Regions from separate parts of the Homo sapiens genome. Here regions 1, 2 and 3 are each linked to region 4. Evidence: promoter capture Hi-C in 16 types of primary human blood cells and fetal thymus (Javierre and others, 2016). All regions are on one chromosome and are shown on one strand. The core of a region is centred on a gene start or on the middle of the fragment in contact, and the rest is flanking DNA. Distances in the headings are between cores, read along the strand shown.

The links. Contacts are between HindIII fragments. The CHiCAGO score rates a contact against its expected background, and 5 or more counts as called.
Region 1: a fragment that was not itself captured here is called in contact with the fragment with the promoter of RPS4X in region 4 in 1 of 17 cell types (neutrophils); the score reaches 5.3 in neutrophils.
Region 2: a contact is called between the fragment with the promoter of PHKA1 here and the fragment with the promoter of RPS4X in region 4, in 1 of 17 cell types (M1 macrophages). The highest score is 9.8, in M1 macrophages.
Region 3: a contact is called between a fragment that was not itself captured here and the fragment with the promoter of RPS4X in region 4, in 2 of 17 cell types (endothelial precursors and erythroblasts). The highest score is 5.3, in endothelial precursors.

What each region holds. Positions count from the first base shown.
Region 1 is chrX:72,013,986-72,017,189 of GRCh38, reverse strand. All of the region lies in intron 1 of NHSL2 (NHS like 2), which reads right to left. Among named protein-coding and RNA genes, the nearest start is that of NHSL2, 100 kb to the right of the region's middle. The HindIII fragment of the contact is 4,070 bases long and covers 1-3,204 here.
Region 2 is chrX:72,712,822-72,716,149 of GRCh38, reverse strand. PHKA1 (phosphorylase kinase regulatory subunit alpha 1) reads left to right here and starts at 1,844. Exons shown (of 32, transcript NM_002637.4): 1 at 1,844-2,347; 2 at 3,213-3,328. The coding sequence starts at 2,270. RefSeq lists enhancers at 567-1,555, 1,556-2,540 and a silencer at 1,714-1,863. The HindIII fragment of the contact is 1,799 bases long and covers 1,235-3,033 here.
Region 3 is chrX:72,563,709-72,567,084 of GRCh38, reverse strand. The region is part of intron 4 of HDAC8 (histone deacetylase 8); the gene reads left to right. Among named protein-coding and RNA genes, the nearest start is that of HDAC8, 7.4 kb to the left of the region's middle. The HindIII fragment of the contact is 1,247 bases long and covers 1,320-2,566 here.
Region 4 is chrX:72,275,492-72,278,923 of GRCh38, reverse strand. RPS4X (ribosomal protein S4 X-linked) reads left to right here and starts at 1,676. Exons shown (of 7, transcript NM_001007.5): 1 at 1,676-1,731; 2 at 2,690-2,767; 3 at 3,200-3,380. The coding sequence starts at 1,729. RefSeq lists enhancers at 1,857-1,926, 2,097-2,176. The HindIII fragment of the contact is 11,342 bases long and covers 1-3,432 here.

The sequences.
Region 1 (3,204 bases), core at 534-3,033, 260 kb after region 4:
CCAGAACATTCAGGCCCAATAGGCCCTGCTACCCAGCCCGTCTTCCCCTATATAGAGGGGCATGATGAATGAGTGCACCCTTCTGGGGTGGGTTGTTTCCTAGTTCCACAGGACCCCAACCCACAGACACCAGCATGGAACAGGGGCCACTCCTAATTTCTGGTACTTCCCATCCTCCACCATTCATGATAACTTGCTGTCACCCTGGGCTCTCCTGGATAAAACAGCACAGCCCCACTGGCTCCTAATGTTACCATATGCTGCTTCTCTACTTGGTCCACTCTTCACTCCCTTCTGTGAAGTTCAACAAGGTATGTAATCAAGCCAGAGTTTTGGTGGGTTGGTTTGTTTGTGATCAGGAAAAGGAAGAGTTGCCCCTACTTTGGAAGTACCACTGAACAGCAGAGCAAGTGTCCAGAGCCTCTGTTTATAATAAATATTTACCCTCAGAGCCTGAAGTGTAGGTCCTCACAAATACACAGACACAAATGTGTGTGTCTCTGTGTGTGTGTTTGTGTGTGTGTGTGTTGGGGATGGGTTATGTGGGTTCTTTGACCCCTGAACATCTTTCGTGCAGGCCCCAGTGGTCTTTCTGAAGGAGAAAAAGTTGTGTGGAGAAAAGGAGAAAAGATGTCTCCCTAAATTAATCTATAATCTCATTGCTATTTCAATCAAATCTCCAGAGGAATTTTTCACAGAACCTGACAAACTGATTCTAAAATCCATGTGAAAAAGAATATGTATAAGAAGAGCCAAAACAATTTTTTTGGGGAAAAGAACAAATGAAGGATGACATTATACAAGGTATCAAATCTACAGTAATTAACAGGGTGTGGCATTGGCACAGAAGTAGACAAATGAGTGAAAGAGAACAGAGAGCTCTCAAGCCAACTCATGTAAAGGTGTTAAATAAAATAATAAAAGCTGCATTTATAAGTCAGTGGTGAAAGAATGGACTATTCAACGAATAGTGCTGAAGTAACTAGCTTTCCATTTGATAAAAATTAAATGAGATCCCTACCTCATACTATACACACACATATTCCACATAGCTCAAACAACTAAATATAAAAAAGAATAGAAACCTGTAATGGGAAAAATAGAGATTTATATATTTGTGACTTTGGTATGGAGAAAGTCATTTTAAACAACACACAAACACAACCCAAAAGCCAGGAGGGAGTGGTTGACAAATTTGAATCTACACAAAAGAATAATTTTTTTTTAGGCAAAAGACACCATCAATAAAGTTAAAAGACAAATAATAAACTGGGGAAATATATTTGAAATGTATGTATTAGACAAAGAACAATAAAAATATATAGAGAATTTCTGTAAATCAATAAAAAGGTAAACAACTCAAAATAAATATGGGCAAAGTATATGGACAGGTAATTCAAAAGGAGAGTTACAGATGGCCAACAGACATTTGAAAAGATATTCAGCCTCTGGGAATCAAGGAAAGGCAAATGATAACAACCACCAGATATCATCTTTCACTCATTACATTCGGAACTCAAAGTCTGACTATTATCAAGTGTTGTCAAGAAGTTGAGCAAAACTGCTACTCTCATACACTGCTGGGTGGAGCACAGCCATTATGGGTAGAAATTGGACAACACCCATTAACATGGAAAATGTGCATCCCCTATTACCCAGCAACGCCACTTAGCATCTATCATGAAGAAACTCCTGCACGTGTACACAAATGTTTATTGAATGGATGTTTATTGAAAGATTGTGTTAGCCACCACAATTAAGAAACAACCTAAAAGTTCATCAATGGGTGAATAGTTAAATAAATCCTGATAAAAGTCATACTCTGCAAAGTTACATAACATTTTAAAAGAATAAGTTAGGACTTCTGCTTCTGGGAAGATGGAATGACATACTTTTCCCTGGTCCTCCCTCTAAAGCACAACAAAAAACCGTGAGCATTATATATAAAATGAACACAAAAAGACTGGAGAGGAGGTGGAGAGAAGAATGTACACCTGCAAGAGACCTCAGGACTCAAGGAACGGCATGTGGTGAGTTCCCTGGATTTTTGTTTTGCCTCATATATCCCAGAGTTGAAGCTGAAAAAGTCTGCAAACTGAAAATACCAACAGGGGCAGATTTTTTAAAAATCATGCTCTCTTACCAAGACAGAAATTTTTATACACTAATTCTTTAGCCAAATACCACAGAAAAAAATATGTGGTCCCGTTCCCAACCCCACCAGCAAAGGAGGGGTTGAAAACATAGCTTTTCACCCTTGCTAAGCTATAACCAGGTGCCCCAAATTTCCCCACTGGGGTGAAGTCAGAGAAGGCTGAGCAGGCATCTGGGATAGACCTACTAGATAGAAAATCAGCAAGGGTATATAGGAACTCAACAACACCCTCAAACAACAGGATTTGATTTGACATTTATAGAACATCTCATCCAACAGCAGAAGAGTACACATCCTTTTCAAGTGCCCATGGAATACAAAACATGTTAGACATATCCTGTGTCATAAAACAAATGTCAACAAATTTAAAATAATTGAAATCAAATGAAATGTATTCTGTGACCAAATTGGAAATCAATAACAGAAAGATAAGAAAATATCTAAAACTTGAAAAATAAACAACACACTTTAAAATAACCCATGGGTCAAATATGAAAATTTAAATTTCAAGATAAATTTTAAAAATACATTGAACTGAATCAAAATGAAAATACAACATAGAAAAATTTATGAGATGCAACTAAAGCAATGCTTAAAAAGAAGTTTATAGCTCCAAATGCTTATACTATAAAAGAAAAAAGGTCTCAAATCAATCATCTAAGTTCCTACCTCAAGTAACTAGAACAAGGAGAGCAAAATAAAGCCAAAGCAAACAGAAGGAAGAAAATAATAAAAATAACAGCATAAATAAGCAGAATTGAAAATAGAAAAATAGAGAAAATCAATGAAATAAAGAGCTGCTTCTTTGAAAAGATCAGTAAGATTGACAAACCTCTAGCAAGACATACAAATTGCTCATATCAGGAAGGAAATGAATATCACTACAGAGCCTTCAGACATCAAATGGGTAATAAGGGAATACTATGAACAATGCTACATGCTTTGACAACTTTGATGAAACAGACCAATTTCTTGAAAAATATAAACTTCCCAAATCTACCAAATATGAAATAGATGATTTGAATAGCCCTATAACTATTAAAAACATG
Region 2 (3,328 bases), core at 595-3,094, 440 kb before region 4:
TCCACTGTGCACCTAGATTTTGAAGTGGCTTGTTATTTGCCAGTCATTGCATTTGCGTGGCGAATCACTGCAATGGAAAGCATCTCCTTGAGAACTCTAAGTGTGTCACGATATCTAACTATATCACTGGCTGTTGAACCTGAAAGTCCCATATTTGAGTTCTTAAACATTCCCTCCTTCCTCATCATCATTACCAAATTACTAGTCATCTCCTAGGTGCCTGCCTCTATGCTAAATTGGGCGGAGGTTTTGGGGTGGAATGGAGGGAGCTTATGAGGAGAGAAATAAAAAGATAAACGAAAATGCAAAGTCACCGTGGCCTGGATGAGGTGGCTAAGGAAGGTTTAGAACTTGAAGTCAATCGGTCTAATTTTCTTATCCCGCGATTCAGGGAATAGGTGGTACTTAAGCAGAGCCTTGAAAGGTTTGCAAGGTTTGAATAAGCAGAGAGCAACAGGTGGGGGATGGAGGGAGGAGCCGGAGATGAACGGAGCAAAGGCACTGGGGTCCAAGCCGGGCCGCCCCAAGGGTTGCAGACTGATTCCACGAGGCCAGTAAGCAGCGTTATCTGCAAGCTGCTGCCTTTTTTTTTTCTTTTTTTGAAACGGAGTTTCGCTCTTGTCTCCCAGGCTGGAGTGCAGTGACGCGATCTTGGCTCACTGCAACCTCCACTTCCAGGGTTCAAGCGATTATCCTGCCTCAGCTTCCCGAGTAGCTGGGACTACAGGAGCGCCCCACCACGCCCGGCTAATTTTTGTATTTGTATCGGCGGCGGGGGAAGCGGGGGGGGGGGTTTCCTCCATGTTGGCCAGGCTGGTCTTGAACTCCTGACCTCAAGTGATCCGCCCACTTCAGGCTCCCAAAGTGCTGGGATTACAGGCGTGAGCCACCGCACCCGGCCACTACAAGCTGCTTTTATTATTTTATTTTTATTTTATTTTTTTTGAGACGGAGTCTTACTCTGTCGCCTGGGCTAGAGTGCAGTGGCACGATCTTGGCTCACTGCAACCTCTGCCTCCTGGGTTCAAGCGATTTTCCCGCCTCAGCCTCCCGAGTAGCTGGGATTACAGGCGCGCGCCACCATGCCGGGCTAATTTTGTATTTTTAGTAGAGATGGGGTTCCGCCATGTTGGCCAGGCTGGTCTCGGACTCTTGACTTCAGGTGATCTGCCCTCCTCAGCCTCCCAAAGTGCTGGGATTACAGGAGTGAGCCACCGCGCCCGGCCTCCAAGCTTCTTACGCAGCCTTCCTTCTCCACTTTATTTTCAGCTGAATATTTGTTGCCTCAGCCTTGTGACCTACGTGCGCACGAGGGAGCCATCCAAAGCAGTTATAGGATCTCTTCCAGCTCGAGTCCTGCCAACGCCGCCTTCTGGGGCTGCCAGCTCCCAGCTGTTCCCCGCACTGGCTTCCTCAGAGTGCACCACTGCCTCCTCCCTCCCAAGCCCGCAGACTCGCCAGTTACTAAGGAGTAAAGTACCCTAGGGAGTTCCTGTTTGGTTGGTCTGGCTGGAAGTGAGGCGTGTAATCTGAGCTTTTAAAGTCAAAATCTAAAATACAATAAAGACCCAGAAATCCAAGTCTTCAGACCTGGAACACAAGCGTGTCTTTCAGTTTTGAAGTTCACTGTAGGTTCCTTTATAAAACTAGTCCTGTAGAACGAAGGAGAGCCTCCCCAACATCCTGTGTGCACAGCAAGTGTGGAAAACTGAAATAGTGATCTGAGGTGTTTCGAAAATAAACCTCGGAAAGCACATTGCCTACGGTGACACATTCTCGGCCCCGGGGCGGGCGAGCCCCGGGGTCGCAGCGCGCAGCTGCCAGAACCAGTCGCGCCCGCCCCGCCTCCCGCTCGCGTCTCCCGCAAGGTGGAGGCGGCGCAGCGGTCGTTGACCTGTTGGCGGCGGCCGGGCGGGAGGCTGTGGGCCGCGGCGGTCTCCCGGGGTTGAGGGGAGGATGCAGGAGTCACACGCGGAGGCCGGACTGGACTAAGGGGGCAGGAGCGGCGCCTGGGGCGCTGCGGCGGGGCTCTAGACCGCGGGAAGCCAGTGCTAGCGCTGGCGCGTGGTGGGCCCCTGAGGCCGCCGGAGTCCGGAGAGGTACGCGGAATCCGCGGCGCCAGGCCTGAGCGGTGGGAGGGCTCTGCGGGGCCTGGTGTTCAGGCGTCCCACCACGAGGGTGGAGCAGCGTTGGATACTTGTTCCTTAGGGACCGAAGGCTCCGGTGGCACCCGGGCTATTTCTCAGAGGACAATTAGTAACGTGTCGCCATGAGGAGCCGGAGTAACTCCGGGGTCCGGCTGGACGGCTACGCTCGACTGGTGCAACAGACCATCCTGTGCCATCAGGTAACTGCAGGGGTGTCTCTCGTAATCACCGAGCGAGGATGTAGCTTGTCATAGCTTGGACGGAGACCTTGGATGAACTCCGTGCGTGCGTGCGTGTGTGGGTGTGTGTGTGTGTGTGTGTGTGTGTGTGTGACGGAGACCTTGCATGAACTCCGCGTGTGTGTTTGTGTGTGTATCTGTATCTGTCTGTAGCAGGTTCTCCCGCCCCTGTTAATTATATATTTTTTCTGCTGGTTTTTCATTGCTAGTTCGCTAGTTCATTCTAACTAGAAAGGTAAAACTTTCTTTTAATAATACCCATTATAAATGCACTTAATAATACCTTTAATTGTGCCTTTAATAATACCCACATTTCAGACTCGAAAGGCTTCAGCCACCGCTTACCCCTTATTCAAGATAGTATTTGCAAAGGGCACAAAGTTTCAGTTATAAGATGAGTAAGTTCTGGGGATCTGATGTACAGCAGCATGGTGACTGTAGTTAATCATACTGTACTGTATACTTGAAATTTACTAAGAGAGTAGATCTTAAGTATTCTCACCACACCAAAAAAAAAGGTAGCTGTGAGGTAATAGATGTGTTAATAAACGTCATTTTGGTAATTTTCCAATGAATACATAAATCATCATGTTGTACTCCCTAAATATACACAATTTTTAATGTGTTGAATATAGCTCAGTAAAGCTTGGGAAGGTGGGAAGATAGCATTTGCCTGCAATAGGTCAGAAGAAGAGGAGGTTATAAAACTCAAGAGTGGAGAAGTAGAAGAAAGACCAAAGTCCCTAAAAAACCCATTTGGAAGATTCTGTTTCCTGATGTTAACACCTATGGTTACCTTCCTGCCCTCTTTTTCTTGACCTTGCAGAATCCAGTGACTGGCTTGCTTCCAGCCAGCTATGATCAGAAAGATGCTTGGGTCCGAGATAATGTGTACAGCATCTTGGCTGTGTGGGGTTTGGGCCTGGCCTATCGGAAGAATGC
Region 3 (3,376 bases), core at 694-3,193, 290 kb before region 4:
CAACCTCCTCCTTCCCAGTTCAAGTGATTCTCCTGCCTCAGCCTCCTGAGTAGCTGGAATTACAGGCACCCGCCATCATGCCCAGCTAATTTTTGTATTTTTGTAGAGACAGGGTTTCACCACGTTGGCCAGGCTGGTCTTAAACTCCTGACCTCAGGTGATCTGCCTGCCTTGGCCTCCCAAAGTGCTGGGATTACAGGGGTGAGCCACCGCGCCTGGCCACCTTCTAGAGTTTTATGTTAACATGTCAAACTGCAGTAGTCTGTCTGAGAAGGATTGCTGGGCCCTCCTTCAGCATTTGGGACTTTGTTTGATATTTCTGTAGTACTTAATCCACATTGAAGAAGAAGGATTTTTTAAACTCTGAATTTATCGATCCTCTGTCTGAGAGAAATGAAGCCACTGTGGTAGTAACTGCCAATGCCTCACTCAGGAATCAATTGTTCATGCAATCAACCGTGACCTTAGGTGCTCTTAGGTCAAGAGAAAACAACACTTTGTTTTTCAGAATAAAACACAGCACAACTTCAGCATATGCAGGTTAAGATAATAACAGAATTTTTTCCATCAAATTGACAGATTTTGTGGCCAAGGAAGTCCTTGAAAAAGTTTACTGCTAGAATTTACTAGTTGGGCAACACAGCAAAGGAAACCAATGTTTTAGTAATGAGTCTTACATGGTTTTAAAAACAGAGACAAGCTGCCTTTTGTTAGCTTTTGCTTGCTTGCCTGCTTGCTTTTTTCTTGCTTTGTTTGTTTGTTTGTTTGTTTTTTGTTTTTTGTTTTTTAATAAAGACAATGTCTCCCTATGTTGCCCAGGCTGATCTTGAACTCCTGGGCTCAAGGGATCCTCCATCCTCAGCCTCCCAAGGTGCTGGCATTACAGGTATGTGCCACCACACCTGGCCTCTTTCTTTCTTTCTTGTTTTGTTTTTTTCGAGACAGAGTCTCTCTCTGTCACCAAGGCTGGAGTGCAGTGGTGCAATCATAGCTCACTGCAGTCTCGAACTCCTGGGTTCAAGGGATCTGCCCACCTCAGCCTTCTAGGTAGCTAGGACTACAGGCACGTGCCACCATGCTTGGATAATTTTTGTATTTTTTGTAGAGATGAGGTCTTGCTATGTTGCCCAGGCTGGTCTCAAATTCCTGGCCTCAAGTGATCCTCCCACCTTGGCCTCCCAAAGTGCTGGCATTACACATGACAGCCACTGCACACCGCCTGCCTTTTTTTTAAATTCAAAATAAAGACAATGACTGCTAGGAGAAAAAAAATGACCCTCTCCCCTCCCAGGTGCAGAGTGAAAGGAGAAAGCTAAGCTTCTCTGAACGAAAGACTTCTAGGTCCTCTTGGGCTTGGCAAGTTGAGAAGAAAAGTAGTGTGGCTTCATAGAAAAGGCTTGCTTCTATGAATGACATCCAGTTTATTATGCAATTAAATTAACTGCAGAAGGCCTACTAGGGCCTGGGTCATTTTCCAGTGGAGTACTCTGCTTCTTATTACTGTTTTGCTGCCAAAGGAAGTACACTCTGTCTTGACCCAATCACGACTGCTTCTGGGCTGCACACAGACATGGGGATACCCACATATATCGCCTTAACTGTTGTAGACATCTTTCAGCTGATCCTGCATGGAAACGGACATGCCTGTGATAAATATAAATTACAGAGTCTCTAGAGATTGCCCCAGTTTAGGTCTGAATTCCAAGGTGTTCTTGGCATAACTAGAACCTCTCTGTAGATGGACTACAGGCATTTAGGCCACAAACTTACATCTAGCCAACATTTACCTATTATAATCACAATATTTGCTTAAACTTCCCATCTGCAAATATATGTACAGATTCATACATGCCATTTATTCATTGAACAAGCATTGATTAGGCACCTACTACATGTCAAATGTATGTTTATCATCACCAGTAAGCAGAGATATAGAAATTGAAGCAAGATATATTGTTTCCCCTACCAAGTTTGAAAAAGATTCTTTATTTCAAAATATCCAGGTGGTAGAAGGATTACAGTGAAATTAATACAACCCCTTTTGAAAACCTTGGAAGTGTTAAGAATGGGAAAAAATGTTCATACCAGTTGGGCCAGTAACAATATTCTTGGCAATCTATTCTAAGGAAATAAACCAATTCTACCTGCAAGAAATTTATATCTTAGGAGTAAGACAGCAAATAATTGCATTTGAAAGCTAAAAAAGGATGATTTTCAAAGAATATTCTACAAAAGAAGAGTAACGAAGGACTAATACTATTAGATATTAAGCATCCAAAACTACAGTAATGAAAACACTGGTACAAAAATTAGACAGATAGGTTATAGTACACCCCCCACCCCAACAAAGAGACCAATTATATAGAATTTAATCTATTACAAAGGATGCATTGCAAGTGAATGGGAGTTGAAAGGTCTGTTGAGTAAATGAATGGTATTGTGACAGCTTGTACCATTATACCCTCATCTACTGTAATAAACTAAAATGAGTGACAGCTAGATTGAAAAGTTAAATATTTAAAAAAGCAAATTTTAAACACTAGAGTGAATGGATATTTATCAAGCTTCTAAAGGGGAAGAATTTTCTAAGCTTAGAAAGTAATTTTTTAAAATCACAAAGGAAAAGATCAAACCCGACTGTACAAAATTTTAAAACCAAAATAACTTTTAAAAGGTTTTTTGGCTATTTTCAAAATCTAAACACAGACTGAAAAAGCCTATGTATCATAAATATGACAAAGTGTAATAGGCTTGTATTATCTAACCCACTCCTACAATATAATGTATAAGAAGAAATCTGCACAAAGAACACGAATAGACAATTTACAAAGGAGTTTAAGGACAACTGGAAAACATTGGAAAATGTTCATCACTACTAATCAAAGAAATGTAAATTAAAACCATTAGGTAAGCCTCTTTTTTTTGAGACAGAATCTCGGCTCTGTCATCCAGGCTGGAGTGCAATGGTGTGATCTCGGCTCACTGCATCCTCTGCCTCCCGGGTTCAAGCGATTCTCCTGCCTCAGCCTCTTGAGTAGCTGGGATTACAGGCGCGTGCCACCATGCCCGGCTAATTTTTTTATTTTTAGTAGAGACGGGGTTTCACCGTGTTGGTCAGGCTGGTCTCGAACTCCTGACCTCATGATCTGCCTGCCTCGGCCTCCCAAGGTGCTGGGATTACAGGCATGAGCCACCACTTTTTAAGCCTAAATTTAACAGAATTGAAAAAGATGGTACTCAGTTTCCTAGTGAGTGTGGTTTGGAAGAAAGCATTTTGGTAGCCAATGTGTATTAATGCCCTTTGATCAGGTAATCTTACTTCTGGGAATGTGGCCTAATTTTTTTTTTAAATATGGGAAACAAACTATTTTCATGA
Region 4 (3,432 bases), core at 427-2,926:
TGGCAAGGGGCCTGCCCAGATGAATTAGGGCAGGCTCCATCCTGGAGGTGCTCAGTTTGGTGGAGGCCAGGTAACTAAATTTGTCCTTGCTACCTAATGTGCTGTGTGCCCTCACCAAGTTTGAACACAAGCCTCTGGGGCAAGAATGAGGGATTTACCCTGACTGAGGGGACCACGAGCCCACAGAACCAGAGGGACTTGAACTGTGCATTTCCAAGGCTGAGGTGTGGGATTAGGTGGTACCCAGGAAGGGGGTTTGGCTGTTTGTGGCAGTTCCAAGCTAAGGAATCGAGTCCACAAGCAGTCTTGAAAGAGCTGACTCTAGCCAGGCGCAGTGGCTCAGGCCTGTAATCCCAGCACTTTGGGAGGTCGAGGCGGGCGGATCGCTTGAGTCCAGGAGTTTGAGACCAGCCTAGGTAACATGGCGAAACCCCGTCTCTACAAAAAAATAAAACTACAAAAAATTAGTTGGGTGCAGTGGCGTGCGCCTGTTGTCCCAGCTACTCGTGGGGGCTGAAGTGAGAGGATCGCTTGAGCCCGGGCTGTCTGTCGAGGCTGCAGTGAGCCATGCACTACAGCCTGGGTGACAGAGTGAGACCCTGTCTCCCAAACAAACAAACAAAAAGAGCTGACTCCCTCGGAACAAACTAGCTTGGTGGGGCTTGAGCTTTGAAGTTTGGGATTGGGGAGAGAGAGCAATGGAGCCAGATAAAGTTCAGACCTGCTCCCTTACGGCAGGAAACAGAGGGCCAAGGGCAGTTTCGAAGCAGGATCAGATCTACATTTTAGTTAGATATAACCAGACGATTTCTAATATCCTCTCTCCTCCCTGAGTCTCTATAAGTGCCAAATGCGTTGTACAGGAAGCAAGGGGGAGGATGTCAGAGTTCAAGCAGAGAAGCAAGAGGGGGTTAAAAACGTTGTTGGCTCTTCCCAACTCAGTATGGGCTGCCTGGCTGGCTCAAGGGAACACAAAAAAGGGACAGACAAAATACGTTTAAGAAATAACATTAAATATTTATTAAAATGTATTCTATTGATTATATACAAGTTCTTTGTTTTGTTTTGTTTTGTTTTGTTTTTGAGACGGAGTCTCGCTCTGTCGCCCAGGCTGGAGTGCAGTGGCGCGATCTCGGCTCACTGCAAGCTCCACCTCCGGGGTTCACGCCATTCTCCTGCCTCAGCTTCCCGAGTAGCTGGGACTACAGGCGCCCGCCACTATGCCCGGCTAATTTTTTTGTATTTTTTTTTAGTATAGACGGGGTTTCACTGTGTTAGCCAGGATGGTCTCGATCTCCTGACCTCATGATCCGCCCGCCTCGGCCTCCCAAAGTGCTGGGATTACAGGCGTAGAATCATCTGTACGTGAGACTGGAAGTAAGCTCACTTTGAACTCTCCTTGAGGCCAGGGATGTTGTGTAGCTCATCTTTGTATTCCCAGCACCTAGCACAGAATAAGGCACACAAGAGGCGCTCAGCAAATATGGGAGGAGGAAGGGCGGAAAAAGGGGAGGGAGGAAATCGCCCTTAGGAGACACCCTCTTTCCGCGGCGGTTCCTCAACTCGGGACTTCTGACCTCCCACCAGCAGATGGCAAGAAAGAGTCCCGGCGCGCCAGCAAAGGGCTGAGCTGGGCGGAGCAGCTGAAAATCCGGCGCGCGCAGTCTCCAGCCCCAATTTCTACGCGCACCGGAAGACGGAGGTCCTCTTTCCTTGCCTAACGCAGCCATGGTAAGCCGTTTAGTTAGCGAGCTCTTAGGACGTATCCGCCTCCATCCTCCCCCGGCCGGGGCTGCCCGAGGTTTCGGGATTCCTACTGGGGATGGCCGGGCAGAGGCGAAGGGATCACGGCCTCCGTGGTAGGCCGGGACGGGCTCCAGGGCGAAGGGCGAACGCTGGCCTAGGGTTGGGGAGGCGCAGATCTGGTGCTGCTGTTGGGAAGGCCTCGGTTTCTGACCCGGCCATACGTCCTGATCCCGGGAGAAGCTGCTTTTCCTCCCGGGCCGGAGCCGCGGCTGGGCCAGGAGCTCAGACTGCGAGCCCGAGGTTGGTGGGCGCTGGGGGTGCCCGGCGGAGAAAGGTTTTCTTTGTCATTGCCTTTTTGGCACGGCCTGACTTTACCATACGTGGCCGGTAAGCATCTGGACACAGCATTAAAAAGGCTTCCTTACTCTTTTTAAAGTAAAATTGGTGTCAGCTTTTGGCTTTAGTGTACGAAGGAGCAGCACATGTGTTTGTGCGGATGTCAGAATCTTGTTCCATACGTGTCAAAAACAGACGGTAATAAATTGTGAAAACTTTAGAAACACAGGTAGACTCCTGGCTCATTTCTGTTGCTGTGCGTTTCACTAGTATGGTGTTCTTGAAAGACCCTAACCTCTAAGCAGATACAGTTTCAAACAGTAACATGGAAACACTTTAGCAAGGTTCTGAAAGATAGTAATCAGTAAACGTTCTGAAACATAGTAACCAAGAATATTCTCTGTTACAATAAGAAGGCTTGTTGCAGCTTATGGATCTCACGGTGTTTGTTAAATAACTGTGTTTGTTTCTGTTTTATCGGAACACTATACTTTAATATTGTCCACATTTTGCTGAAGATGAAACTAAACTAAGAGTTTAGTTTCACACTAGGTTTTATAAGCTGTTCTGAAACCTGATTAACAGCATTGCAATCTAAAACTTTCAGGCTCGTGGTCCCAAGAAGCATCTGAAGCGGGTGGCAGCTCCAAAGCATTGGATGCTGGATAAATTGACCGGTGTGTTTGTAAGTATCTTATATAAATATTTCCGTGGCCACTGTTTTTAAGTGTCTCCCAGGACTCATTTGGGGACCAGGCTAGGGGAGGAATATCTATTCTTGGCTTCCTCTGCCCTTGAAGGAGCTATACTATCTAGCTGTCCTCCACTTCCAATCGATTTAATATTTTTGTGCCTCATTTATTCCACATACCACATAGTACATTTACATGGACTCAGGATTCATGTTCTTAATGATCCTGGTCCTCTGACAGGGAAGATGCTATAAAACTTTAAGGTATGAAATAGTTTTGGATGCTTTTTACACCTCCTGTGTAAAAGTCCAAGTTGGGTGTAATATGGACGGTCTTGGTGTTCAGTTAGTGGATCTGGTGGACTAGGAGGTAGGTTTGAGTGCTTTAGTGAATCCCAACAGTGATTATCATTTTTAACGTTACAGGCTCCTCGTCCATCCACCGGTCCCCACAAGTTGAGAGAGTGTCTCCCCCTCATCATTTTCCTGAGGAACAGACTTAAGTATGCCCTGACAGGAGATGAAGTAAAGAAGATTTGCATGCAGCGGTTCATTAAAATCGATGGCAAGGTCCGAACTGATATAACCTACCCTGCTGGATTCATGGGTAAGAAGTTTTAAATACTCTGGAGACGCATATTGATGGCAGCCCTATGGTA